3 separate regions of the Homo sapiens genome follow, and all the other regions are linked to region 3. The links are contacts of gene promoters, found by promoter capture Hi-C in blood cells and fetal thymus (Javierre and others, 2016). All regions are on one chromosome and are shown on one strand. The core of a region is centred on a gene start or on the middle of the fragment in contact, and the rest is flanking DNA. Distances in the headings are between cores, read along the strand shown.

What was found. Contacts are between HindIII fragments. The CHiCAGO score rates a contact against its expected background, and 5 or more counts as called.
Region 1: a fragment that was not itself captured here is called in contact with the fragment with the promoter of GJD4 in region 3 in 1 of 17 cell types (neutrophils); the score reaches 7.3 in neutrophils.
Region 2: a contact is called between a fragment that was not itself captured here and the fragment with the promoter of GJD4 in region 3, in 1 of 17 cell types (neutrophils). The highest score is 7.1, in neutrophils.

The regions. Positions count from the first base shown.
Region 1 is chr10:35,301,679-35,305,424 of GRCh38, reverse strand. The region is part of intron 1 of LOC107984220 (a long non-coding RNA gene); the gene reads left to right. It also overlaps a transcript of CCNY not described here. Among named protein-coding and RNA genes, the nearest start is that of CCNY-AS1, 33 kb to the left of the region's middle. RefSeq lists a silencer at 549-608. The HindIII fragment of the contact is 2,396 bases long and covers 189-2,584 here.
Region 2 is chr10:35,319,857-35,323,630 of GRCh38, reverse strand. CCNY-AS1 (CCNY antisense RNA 1) reads left to right here. Exons shown (of 4, transcript NR_186477.1): 3 at 1,961-2,078. It also overlaps a transcript of CCNY not described here. Among named protein-coding and RNA genes, the nearest start is that of CCNY-AS1, 15 kb to the left of the region's middle. The HindIII fragment of the contact is 1,752 bases long and covers 1,577-3,328 here.
Region 3 is chr10:35,603,546-35,607,363 of GRCh38, reverse strand. It overlaps GJD4 (gap junction protein delta 4), which reads right to left and starts at 2,023. Exons shown (of 2, transcript NM_153368.3): 1 at 1,733-2,023. The coding sequence starts at 1,796. It overlaps GJD4-AS1 (GJD4 antisense RNA 1), which reads left to right. Exons shown (of 2, transcript NR_199600.1): 2 at 1,399-2,802. The HindIII fragment of the contact is 9,701 bases long and covers 1,327-3,818 here.

The DNA of each region.
Region 1 (3,746 bases), core at 137-2,636, 300 kb after region 3:
TATTTCATGTTCTTGTCACCTCAAGCCTGTCTTGAAGCTGATTTCATGCAGCATCCTCTAGACTTGAAGGAACATCACTCCACATTTCAAAGAGTAACAGCATGTATTTTTACAATTTACTCCTTAGCAGGGGGGAATTAGAGCATTAACTGTAGGAAATTTTTCTCTTGTACAATAAACCGAAAGCTTTGTAACCATAAAATGACAATTTTCATTAAAAAGCACGCTTACTTTTGGTATTGCCAGTTACGTAAAGGATAAATGTCTTCGGGCAAAAGGACACGTGGCCATAACCTTTTCCTGACAAGTCTGTCTCCGGTTTTCTCCAAGCAATGTCAGATTTTATATTTTTCCAAAAGAAACAAACGGGAATGCCTCATGAATTGTTCCTGTGGATTTTTAGTTCAATACTACATGACACTTGTATATTAGGCTCCTAAATACTGTGCAACACGGCAACAGTGATGAGAATCACTACTCTTAGACCACACTTGAATTAGTGTCTCTTCCATCCACCCACGTTTTTTGGCTCTTCTTCCTCTGATCTCCCCTGCCTTGAGGCTCAGCACTCCCCCTAACACCCTAGTGGTTCTCAACCTGGGCAATTATGCCCCCAGGAGACATTTTTGGTTGTTGCAACTAGGGGATGCCACTGGCATGTAGTGGGTAGAGGCTAGGGATTCTGCTAAACATCCTACAAGGCACAGGACAGCCCCCCAAAACAAAAATGATCTAGCTCCACATGCCAATAGTACTGTGGCTGAGAAAACCTGCAATATGCTAACCAAACCACTTTTAATTAAAAGGAGAAAAAAGGCCGGGAGCGGTGGCTCACGCCTGTAATCCCAGCACTTTGGGAGGCCGAGGCGGGCGGATCACGAGGTCAAGAGATCGAGACCATCCCGGCTAAAACGGTGAAACCCCGTCTCTACTAAAAATACAAAAAAATTAGCCGGGCGTAGTGGCGGGCGCCTGTAGTCCCAGCTACTTGGGAGGCTGAGGCAGGAGAATGGCGTGAACCCGGGAGGCGGAGCTTGCAGTGAGCCGAGATCCCGCCACTGCACTCCAGCCTGGGCGACAGAGCGAGACTCCGTCTCAAAAAAAAATAAAAAATAAAAAAAAAAAAAAAATAAAAGGAGAAAAAAGCCTTTTCAAGATCTTACAACGGCTCTTATTAGATTATAAATTGTAACCTCCTCAGCCTTACTTTCAACACCTTTCCCAATCCATTTCTAACCTACCTGTCACCTGAACTGAGCAAACCTATGCTGAGCTCCCCCATGTGCAGGAGGTGCAAAGCTACTGAAAGACGAAGAGGGGTTGGTGCTTTCCAGAAGCCCATTCACGGGTGCAGGAGACGGAGAAACTGGAGCATGTGGCTAGCACCCAGCAGGTATCAGGAATGGTCTTTCCTTTCTTCCTAATTAGCTCTAATTCCAGGCTGACTGTGATGGGTGGATAAAGAGTGGTGGATCTTAGTGTTTTCCCCACATCGTAATCTGTGCTCTTGTTTGTCTTTTAATCTATTAGGAAAATTTGAAAGACTAGGTTTTTTTCTATTTGACATAGATCTACCTTTCTTTCTTTCCTTCCTTCCTTCTTTCCTTCCTTCCTTCCTTCCCTCTTTTTTTTTTTTTTTTTTTTTTTGAGACGGAGTTTCGCTGTTGTCGCCCAGGCTGGAGTGCAATGGTACGATCTCGGCTCACCGCAACCTCCGCCTCCCAGGTCCAAGGGATTCTCCTGCCTCAGCCTCCTGAGTAGCTGGGATTACAGGCATGCACCACTACATCCAGCTAATTTTGTATTTTTAGTAGAGATGGGGTTTCTCCATGTTGGTCAGGCTGGTCTCGAACTCCCGACCTCAGGTGATCTGCCCACCTCGGCCTCCCAAAGTGCTGGGATTACAGGCACGAGCCACCATGCCTGGGCTTCTTTCCTCTTTCTTTTTAAGAAACATGGTCTTTCGCCTGTAATCCTAGCACTCTGGGAGGCTGAGGCGGGAGGATCACCTGAGGTCGAGAGTTCAAGACCAACCTGATCAACATGGAGAAACCCCGTCTCTACTGAAAATACAAAATTAGCCAGGCGTCATGGTGCATGCCTGTAATCCCAGCTACTCGGGAGGCTGAGGCAGGAGAATTGCTTGAACCCAGGAGGTGGAGGTTGCGGTGAGCCGAGGTCATGCCATTGCACTCCAGCCTGGGCAACAAGAGTGAAACTCAGTCTCAAAAAAAAAGAAACAGGATCTTACTCTGTCACCCATGCTGGAGTGCAGTGGTGCAGTCATGGCTCACTGCAGCCTGGAATCCCTGGGCTCAAGTGATCTTCCTGCCTCAGCCTCCCAAATAGCTGAGACTACACATCCCAGGTAATTATTTTTATTTTTATTTTTGTAGAGACAGGGTCTCACTATGTTTCCCAAGCTGGTCTGGAATTCCTGACCTCAAGCAATCTTCCTGCCTCGGCTTCTCAAAGTGCTGGGATTACAGGCATGAGCCACCGTGCCCAGCCTCCTTACCTTTATAATTTCTAATAAATATTGTTTTGGTTATACTGAATAAGCATGCCATACTAACAAGAAGCTTTTAGGCTAGCATGTCTCAAAATGTTTTAGCAATTTTCTACTCAGCCTTATGTGTTCATGATCTCTCTGCTCTTGCTACTAATTGAGAAATTAATATTGTTCTCAGTGGCTATGATGTAGATTGAATTGTTCAGCCACAGATTTTTCATCCTGAGATGCCCTTGGGTGCCTGCTAGTTGTTTTTCTTAGGTTGGCTGTTTTGTTCTTCATCTTAAAATATTAACATGTCGGGGCGGGCGCAGTGGCTCATGCCTATAATCCCAGCACTTTGGGAGGCTGAGGCAAGTGGATCGCCTGAGGTCAGGAGTTCGAGACCAGCCTGGCCAACATGGAGAAACCCCGTCTCTACCAAAAATACAAAAATTAGCCAGGCATGGTGGTGCATGCCTGCAGTGCCAGCTCCTCAGGAGGCTGAGACAGGAGAATCACTTGAACCCAGGAGACGGAGGTTGCAGTGAGCCGAGATCGCGCCACTGCACTCCAGCCTGGGTGACAGAGCAAGACTCTGTCTCAAAAAAAAAAAAAAAAAATTAAGATGTCAAAGTATTAACCTGCTGTTTTGATAGAAAAATAGCAATGAGGATGGGCGTGGTGGCTTACACCTGTAATCCCAGCACTCTGGGAGGCCGAGGCAGGTGGGTCATGAGGTCAGGAGATCGAGACCATCCTGGCCAACATGGCAAAACCCCATCTCTACTAAAAACACAAAAATTAGCCAGGCGTGGTGGCGTGTGCCTGTAGTCCCAGCTACTCAAGAGGCTGAGGCAGAGAATCGCTTGAACCTGGGAGGCGGAGGTTGCAGTGAGCCGAGATCACGCCATTGCACTCCAGCCTGGACGATAAGAGCAAAACTCCGCCTCAAAAAATAAATAAATAAATAAATAAATAAAATAAAAAATAACAATGAAGGCTGGGCGGGGTGACTCACACCTGTAATCCTAGCATTTTGGGAGGCCGAGGCGGGCAGATCGCTTGAGCCCAGGAGTTTGAAACCAGCCTGGGCAACATATTGAGACTATGTCTACAAAAAATACAAAAATTAGCTAGGCATGGTGGCATGCACCTGTAGACCTGTCCCAGCTACTCAGGAGGCTGAGGCAGGAGGATCACTTGCGCCCAGGGAGATCAAGTCTTCTGTGAGCCGTGATCATGCCACTGCTCT
Region 2 (3,774 bases), core at 1,203-3,702, 280 kb after region 3:
GGTCCCAGGCAAGCCCTGATCTGTTTTCTGTCACTGTGGATCAGATTTGTCTTTTCTAGAGTCTCATAAAAATGTGATCTTATAAAATGTATAGACTCTTGTGTGTAAGGTTTCTTTTCCTCAGCATAATGTTTTTAGACTTGTCTATGTTGCATGAATGAGTGGTTCATTTCTGTTTATCACTGAGTATTTTTCCAGTGTATGTATATACCACAATTTGTTTATATACCACAAATGTTGATGGACATTTAGGCTTTGTCCAGTTTTGTCTATTATGAATAAAGCCATTATGAACATCTATGTACAAGTTTTTGTGTGGACATGTTTTCTCTTGGGTAAATATCTAGGAGTAAGACTACTGGGTTGTATGCTAAGTGTATGTTTAATTTTAAAAGAAATGGCAGCCGAGTGCGGTGGCTCATGCCTGTAATCTTAGCAATTTGGGAGGCCGAGGCGGGCAGATCACCTGAGGTCAGGAGTTCGAGACCAGCCTGGCCAACATGACGAAACCCTGTGTCTACTAAAAATACAAAAAAAATTTGCCACGCATGGTGGCACACACCTGTAATCCCGCTACTTGGGAGGCTAAGGCAGGAGAATCGCTTGAACCTGGGAGGTGGAGGTGAGACTGAGCCAAGCTCACACCACTGTACTCCAGCCTGAGCGACAGAGCGAGACTCCATCTCAAAAAAAATAAAAAATGGCCAAACTGTTTTCCAAAGTCCTGGTACCATCTTACATCCTACCGGTAAAGTTATGAGAGTTGTAGTTGCCCTACATTCTCACCAATACTTGCTATTATCAGTCTTTTTAATTTTCACCATCCTAATGGATACGTAGTGGTATCTCACTGTGGTTTTACTTTGCATTTCCCTGATGGCTAATGATGTTGACATATTTTTGTGTGCATGTTGGATACTAATATATCTTTGTAAAGTGCCTATTCAGTGTCTTTTCCAATTTAGTTGGGTTGCTAAAAAGTCTTCATATATTCCAGATACAATACCTTTGGCAGGTATGTAGATATGTGTTGTGTGACTATTTTCTCCCAGTCTGTGACTTGTCTTCATTTTGTTAGCATTGTCTTTTGAAGAGCAGAAGTCTTTAACTTTGTAAAAGTCTAATTTTTTGCTATCTTCTTTTATAGCTCTTGTCTTTTTTTGTTTTTTTGTGTGTGTGTATTCAATTATCTAAGAACTCTTTGACTCCCTTCAGATCATGTAAATGTTCTCCTGTTTTATTTTAGAAATTTTAATTTTACCTTTTTTTTTTTTTTTGAGACAGAGTCTTGCTCTGTCACCCAGGCTGGAGTGTAGTGACGTGATCTCAGCTCACCGCAGCCTCTGCCTCCCAGGTTCCAGCAATTCTGCCTCAGCTTCCCAAGTAGCTGGGACTACAGGAGGCAAGCACTGCGATGCCCAGCTAATTTTTGTATTTTTAGTAGAGACAGGGTTTCACCATGTTGGCCAGTATGGTCTTGATCTCCTGACCTGGTGATCCACCCGCTTCGTTCTCCCATAGTGCTGGGATTACAGGCGTGAGCCACCGCACCCATCCAAGTTTTACCTTTTAAGCTTAGGTACATGATCCAATTTGAGGTGAATTTTGTGTATGAGTAAGTTAATAATCAATGTTCATTTTTTCCCATATGGATATCCAGTTTTTCCGGTACCATTTGTTGAAAAGACTGTCTTTCCCCTATTGACTTACTGTGGCCACTTTGTCAAAAATTACTTGCCCATAGACATGCGGGTTCATTTATTTTGTTCCATTGATCCAAATGTTGATCCTTTAATAATAATGTAGCTTTATAGTCAGTCTTGAAATTTGATAGTTTGAATATTCCAACTTTGTTGTTCTTTTTCAAAAATTTTTTGCATTCTAAGTCCTTTGTGTTTTTATATAAATTTTAGAATAAGTTATGTAAGTGCCTGCTGGGATTTTCTTTTTTTTGAGACAGGGTCTTACTATGTCACCCAGACTGAAGTGCAGTGGCATGATCACAGGTCATTGCATCCTCAACCACCCAGACTCAAGCAATCCTCCTGTCTCAGCCTTCCAAGTAACTGAGACCACAGGTGCGTACCACCACACCTGGCTATTTTGCTGCTGTTTGTTTTTGTAGAGATGGGGTTTCACCACATTGCCCAGGCTGATCTTGAATTCCTGGGCTCAAGCAGTCTTCCCACCTCAGCCTCCAAAAGTGCTGGGATTATAGGTGTGAGCCATCGTGCCCCACCCCTGCTGGGATTTCAGTTAAGATTACATTGTATCTGTGGAACAATTTGGGAAAAATGGTCATCATCATATTTAGTCTTGTAGTTCATAGACATAGTATATCTCCATTTATTTGCGTCTTTAATTTTCAGCATAACATTCAGCAATGTTTTTATAGTTTTAATTGTATAGGTGCCTTGCATGTATTATGTTAAATTTATCCCTAACTAGTCCATGTTTTTGATACTATAGTAAATGGTGTTTGTGTGTGTGTGTGTGTATTTTTTTTTTTTTTTTTTAGACAAAGCCTCACTCTGTCACCCAGACTGGAGTGCAGTGGTATAATCATAGCTCACTACAGCCTTGACCTCCTGAGCTCAAGCAGTCCTCCTGTCTCAGCCTCCCAAGTAGCTGGGATGACAGTGTGCACCACCACACCCAGCTAATTTTTTTTTTTTTGGTCTTGCTGTGTTGCCCGGGCTGGACTCAAGTGATCTTCCCTTCTCAGCCTCTCAAAGTGCTGGAATTACAGGCATGAGCCACCGTGCCCAGCCAGAGGTATTGTTTTTGATACTATAGTAAATATTTTATTTAAATTTCCAGGTGGTTATTGCTAGTATGCAGAAAATATTTTTTTGCATTAACCTATGCTAAAGTCACTTACTATTTTGATTTGCCTTTCATAAAGATTCCTTAAATGTTTCTACATACACAATCATGTCATCTGCAGATAGACAGTTTTATTTCTTCTTTTCAATCTGTATGGTTTTCTTTGCCTTTTTCTTGCCTATTGTACTGGCTAGGACTTCCAGTGTAATGTTTAATAGAAATCCTGAGACTGGACATCCTTGCCTTATTTTCAATCTGAGGAGAAAGCATTCAGTTGTTCATCATTAACAGACAATGTTAGCTGAAGGTTTTTCAGAGCTTGTGTACTCTACCAGGATGAAGAAGGTCCCTTCTATTTCCAGTTTGCTAAGAGTTTTAAAATTGTGAATGGATGGCGAATTTTGTTATTTTTCTGCATCTAATAAGAGAATCATATATGGTTTTTCTCCTTTGTTCTGTTAATATGGTAGGTATGTTGATTTTTTTAGTGTTAAAACAAGCTTGCATTCTTGGGATAAACCCCACTTAGTCATGATGCATTATCCTTGTTATATATTGCTGAATTCAGTTTGCCAAAAATTTAACTAAGGATGTTTGCATCTGTATTCAGTGAGGTATACTGTATTCAGTGAGGTATTCCTTTCAATGTCATTGTCTGGGCTCAGACAATGACTAGAGAAGTCATCTTTCTTTGTTTTTAGAATGAGTTTGTGTGTGTTTGTTATTATTTTTCCTTAAATATTTGATAGAATTTACTGCTGAAGCCACCTCAGTCTGAAGTTTCTTTGCAGGAAGTTTTAATTCATAATTAAATTTCCTTAGCATATATAGGGCTTTTTTCTTTTTTCTTTTTTTGAGACAGAGTGTCACAGTGTCTCCCGGGCTGGAGTGCAATGGCGCGATCTCAGCTTACTGCAGCCTTTGCCTCCCGGGTTCAAGCAATTCTCC
Region 3 (3,818 bases), core at 774-3,273:
TCCTGCCGCCTTGGCCTCTTGAGTAGCTGGGATTACAGGCATGAGCCACCACACCTGTCAGCTTGTCTTTACTCACAGCATCAGGTAGTTCATTTGACAAATATTTACTGAGCACTGAACATCCTTGTTTGTAAGATGCTTCAAGATGAGTAGATTTTTAAAAAGCATTATATTAAAAGTGTTTTAATCTGTCTGCTAATTCAGACTTTTGGTAATGTCTCCTGGACTGATAGGTCCAGAAAGAAAGTTTGGCTGAGCAAATTAATGATTTAAATAAGATTTAAATTTTCTTCTTAGGAGAATAAGCCTTTTAAAAGAGGTTGGTGTATTTCTGTAACTGCCAATTCGAGCTGCTGATTTCAGTAAATCTTACTTATGACAACAGTCCAGGGATCTCTATTTAATCACAGGGCTTGTATTTAATGTTAGTCTACGGCCCTTGAAATTGAATTTCTTTATGAACATTCCATTTTTCAGATTTTTTAATCATTCAGAATTCCTCTTCCCCTTTTCCAGTTATTAGGAATGAATGGGGCTTGTCTTTCTTCAATGTATCGTGAAGGAATGACACCAAGCTAGAAAACCAAAATAACTGTCAAGCCCTATTTTCATGGCACCGGCCAACTGTTTCGAAACATGTTTAAAACTCAGCCAAAATAACTTGTGAATATTGTGTTTTGTGATGAGAGAAACATCGCCTGACATCATAAAAACAAAACAAAAATAAATATGTAAAGACAGTCAAACAAAGAATAATATCATTATGTGATGAGTCATTGAGTTGAACTTTTAACATCAAGTTGGTTTTGTCTAAATCTACAAAATAATGAGCCAGAAAAGTATCAACTGCATCTCCGGCATATATTCATCCTTTTCTGACCCCCATACCTCTCTGAAAATGTGAGTCGTCTGCATTAAACAAAAATCTATTATTTTCTTTGTTAAAAAAAATAACTAAACTTGGGATTTGGTTTAAAGTGCACAAGAGAAATGGCTACTCCTTAAAAATTAAGCTTCCAGGCCAGGCGTGGTAACTCACGCCTGTAATCCCAGCACTTTGGGAAGCCAAGGCGGGTGGCTCACGAGGTCAGGAGATCGAGACCATCCTGGCTAACACGGTGAAACCCCGTCTCTACTAAAAACACAGAAAATTAGCTGGGCGTGGTGGCAGGCGCCTGTAGTCCCAGCTACTCGGGAGGCTGAGGCAGGAGAATCACTTGAACCCGGGAGGCAGAGGTTGCAGTGAGCTGAGATTGCATCACTGCACTCCAGCCTGGGCAACAGAGTGAGACTCTGTCTCCAAAAACAAAAAAAAAAAACCAAGCTTCCAGAATAAAACCTAAAGGTATCACCTTCTGATTAACATTTGTTGTTCTGTTCCTTTTCCTGGTAACGTAGCCACACCAGGGTTGCACACAAACACCCCTCCACCTGCTTTGGTCTTTGGAGTCAGCACCCCAGTGTCAGCACAGGATGATCTGTGAGAGAACAATGTCAAACGCAAGACTCCCTTACATGACGGAGGAACCGCGGAACCATTCAAAGAAACTAGAAGCCTCAGCTCTCTTCCCTCCAGAAAGGCACAGCCCTTTCTTTTGGGAGTGGGTGGACTTTCAGCTTGGTGCTTGCACACTGAAAATGAGTAAATACCTGGACCCTTTAAGGACTCAATTCCACCATGGCAGTGGAAATAAAAACAGCGCAGGAGTTTGGAGATGGTCCCAATACTCACCCACCATGGTCACGTTGCAGTTTAATGTGATGATGAGAAACCCTAGCAAGTCCACGCCTTCCATGCTTCCAGAATGTCCCAGGCTCCAGGCTGCAGGAGACACTGGAGGGCTGTGTTCTCCAAGGAGGCGGATAAATGTCCTTTAACTACATAAGACTTAAAGGTGTGAGCTGGAGATAAGAAAGCAAAGGTCTGAGCCAGGAGTAGGAGGTGGGTTTTTCTGTCTCCAAGTTGAGACGGCCCTAAGCCGTTTGCCTCTGAGGCGAAACATTCCTGACAACTGCAGTGACCAGCAGAGCAAGCAGCAGTCATCTCTTATTGTGGGCTATTCTTACTCGCCTGGGATATTCCCGGCCTGTGGCAGCGCTCATATGTCCCCACCAGGACAGCCAGATGCTTCAGGATATAATAGCAGCAACTACTTTTAACCCAAGAAAGAAAACTTCTGCTAACTAGCCAAGTAAATTTCTCTATTAAAAAGGCATTTCCTCCTTGAAAACATTTCCACAACCACTTCACTTGTGCAAGAAGCCCTTAAAGTGTTCACGTTTTGTCTTCTCAATCAAGCATGAATCGCCATGCCACCATCACACGAACCCACAAGGATCTCGCCCTTATTCTGAATTCCTGTGTCATTGGTGCAGGCAGAAATCTGAAACTCAGTTGGGTGTCCCAACTTTAGACCGTGACTTGGTTATTCTCCTGCTGCTTCCTGTGCAGTGAGTGACAACTCTTCGCTTGGAGACAAAAGCCTGGGTGCAAAGCCCGGGGCAGCCCCCTACTCACTGGGGAAGTCATTGGATCCTTCCAGATAGCCTCATCTTGCAATAAGGAGAATCATGCCATTCCACTTGCCATTTGTGGGAGGCTTATGTGAAATGATGGTGTAGAATAAGAGCAACTGGTGTGAAGTGGGTGTACGACAACCCATATCCGTGGGATTTCAATCCCTAATTGGCCTCTACGACCTTCACAGATTACATCTTCCCTTTGTATCTCCCAGCCCCATCTAGCCTGGAGCTGTTCCCATTGAATCTACTTAATAAATGTCTGTTAAATCTGTCATGAAATATCACGGTCTGGACCTGCTGACATCAATCACAGTTGCGTCAAAATCCTATCGCTGCAGCCACCTTCATATCTGGGAAGAACCCATCCTGCAGGGTTGGGGATCTATGATCAGGGTGGAAATTGTAAACTTTAAAAGGAATGATTTCAATTTTCCATGAAAGCTATTCTTTATATCCCCATCTTTTCTTCATTTCTGATCTATTCTTGACTTTAGTAATATCCCTAGAAAGATTCCCAGAAGAGTGCAACAAAGCTACTTTCATCTTTGCTCACATGACATGCTCCCATCCACGGAAAACGTTTTGACCCCCTTGAAAGGAACAGTGGTTTTGCTATATTTTAGTCAAATGCTTCGACATGAGCAAGGAAATTTGAGAAATTGTAGTTAAGTAAAAATATTGAAATAGTCACAGGGTGTAAGTATAAAATAAAGGAGAATTTGTCTCCTAATAGACTGCTCATGGTATTGGCTTTAAAAAAAAAATGAAATATCAGGAAAGCAATTACTGACTCTTGCTGTGTGATAGAAATAGCCCATCCCAAATGTGGAATAAATTAGCCCTGCGCGACCATGAGCAAATCACTGCAGCTTTTCATGCTTCGGTTTTCTCATCAGTGAAGCAGAAAAAAAGAATGTGTTCTTCACCCACTCACAGTGACTGTGATATGCAAATGTGACCAGAGATGTGAAAATGATTTTGAAATGTAAAGAATGACCCAGTGTCAGTGACAGGCGCTTCTCAGGGTTGGCTCCTCTGGTCCCACCCTTCAGGGCATCTTCTGAGCAGCCCATGCCCACCCATCTCCCTTCTCATCCTGGTCACCTTTGCTCTTCCTCCTTGAAGTCTACCCCATCCCCATTCCTTGTCTTTTTTCTCTTTCTCTTTTTTTCCTCTCTCCTGCTAGGTGACATTTTGCTTTACTTGGAAATCTAACTCTGGTCAGGCGCGGTGGCTCACGCCTGTAAATCCCAGCACTTTGGGAGGCTGAGGTGGGTGGATCACCTGAGGTCAGG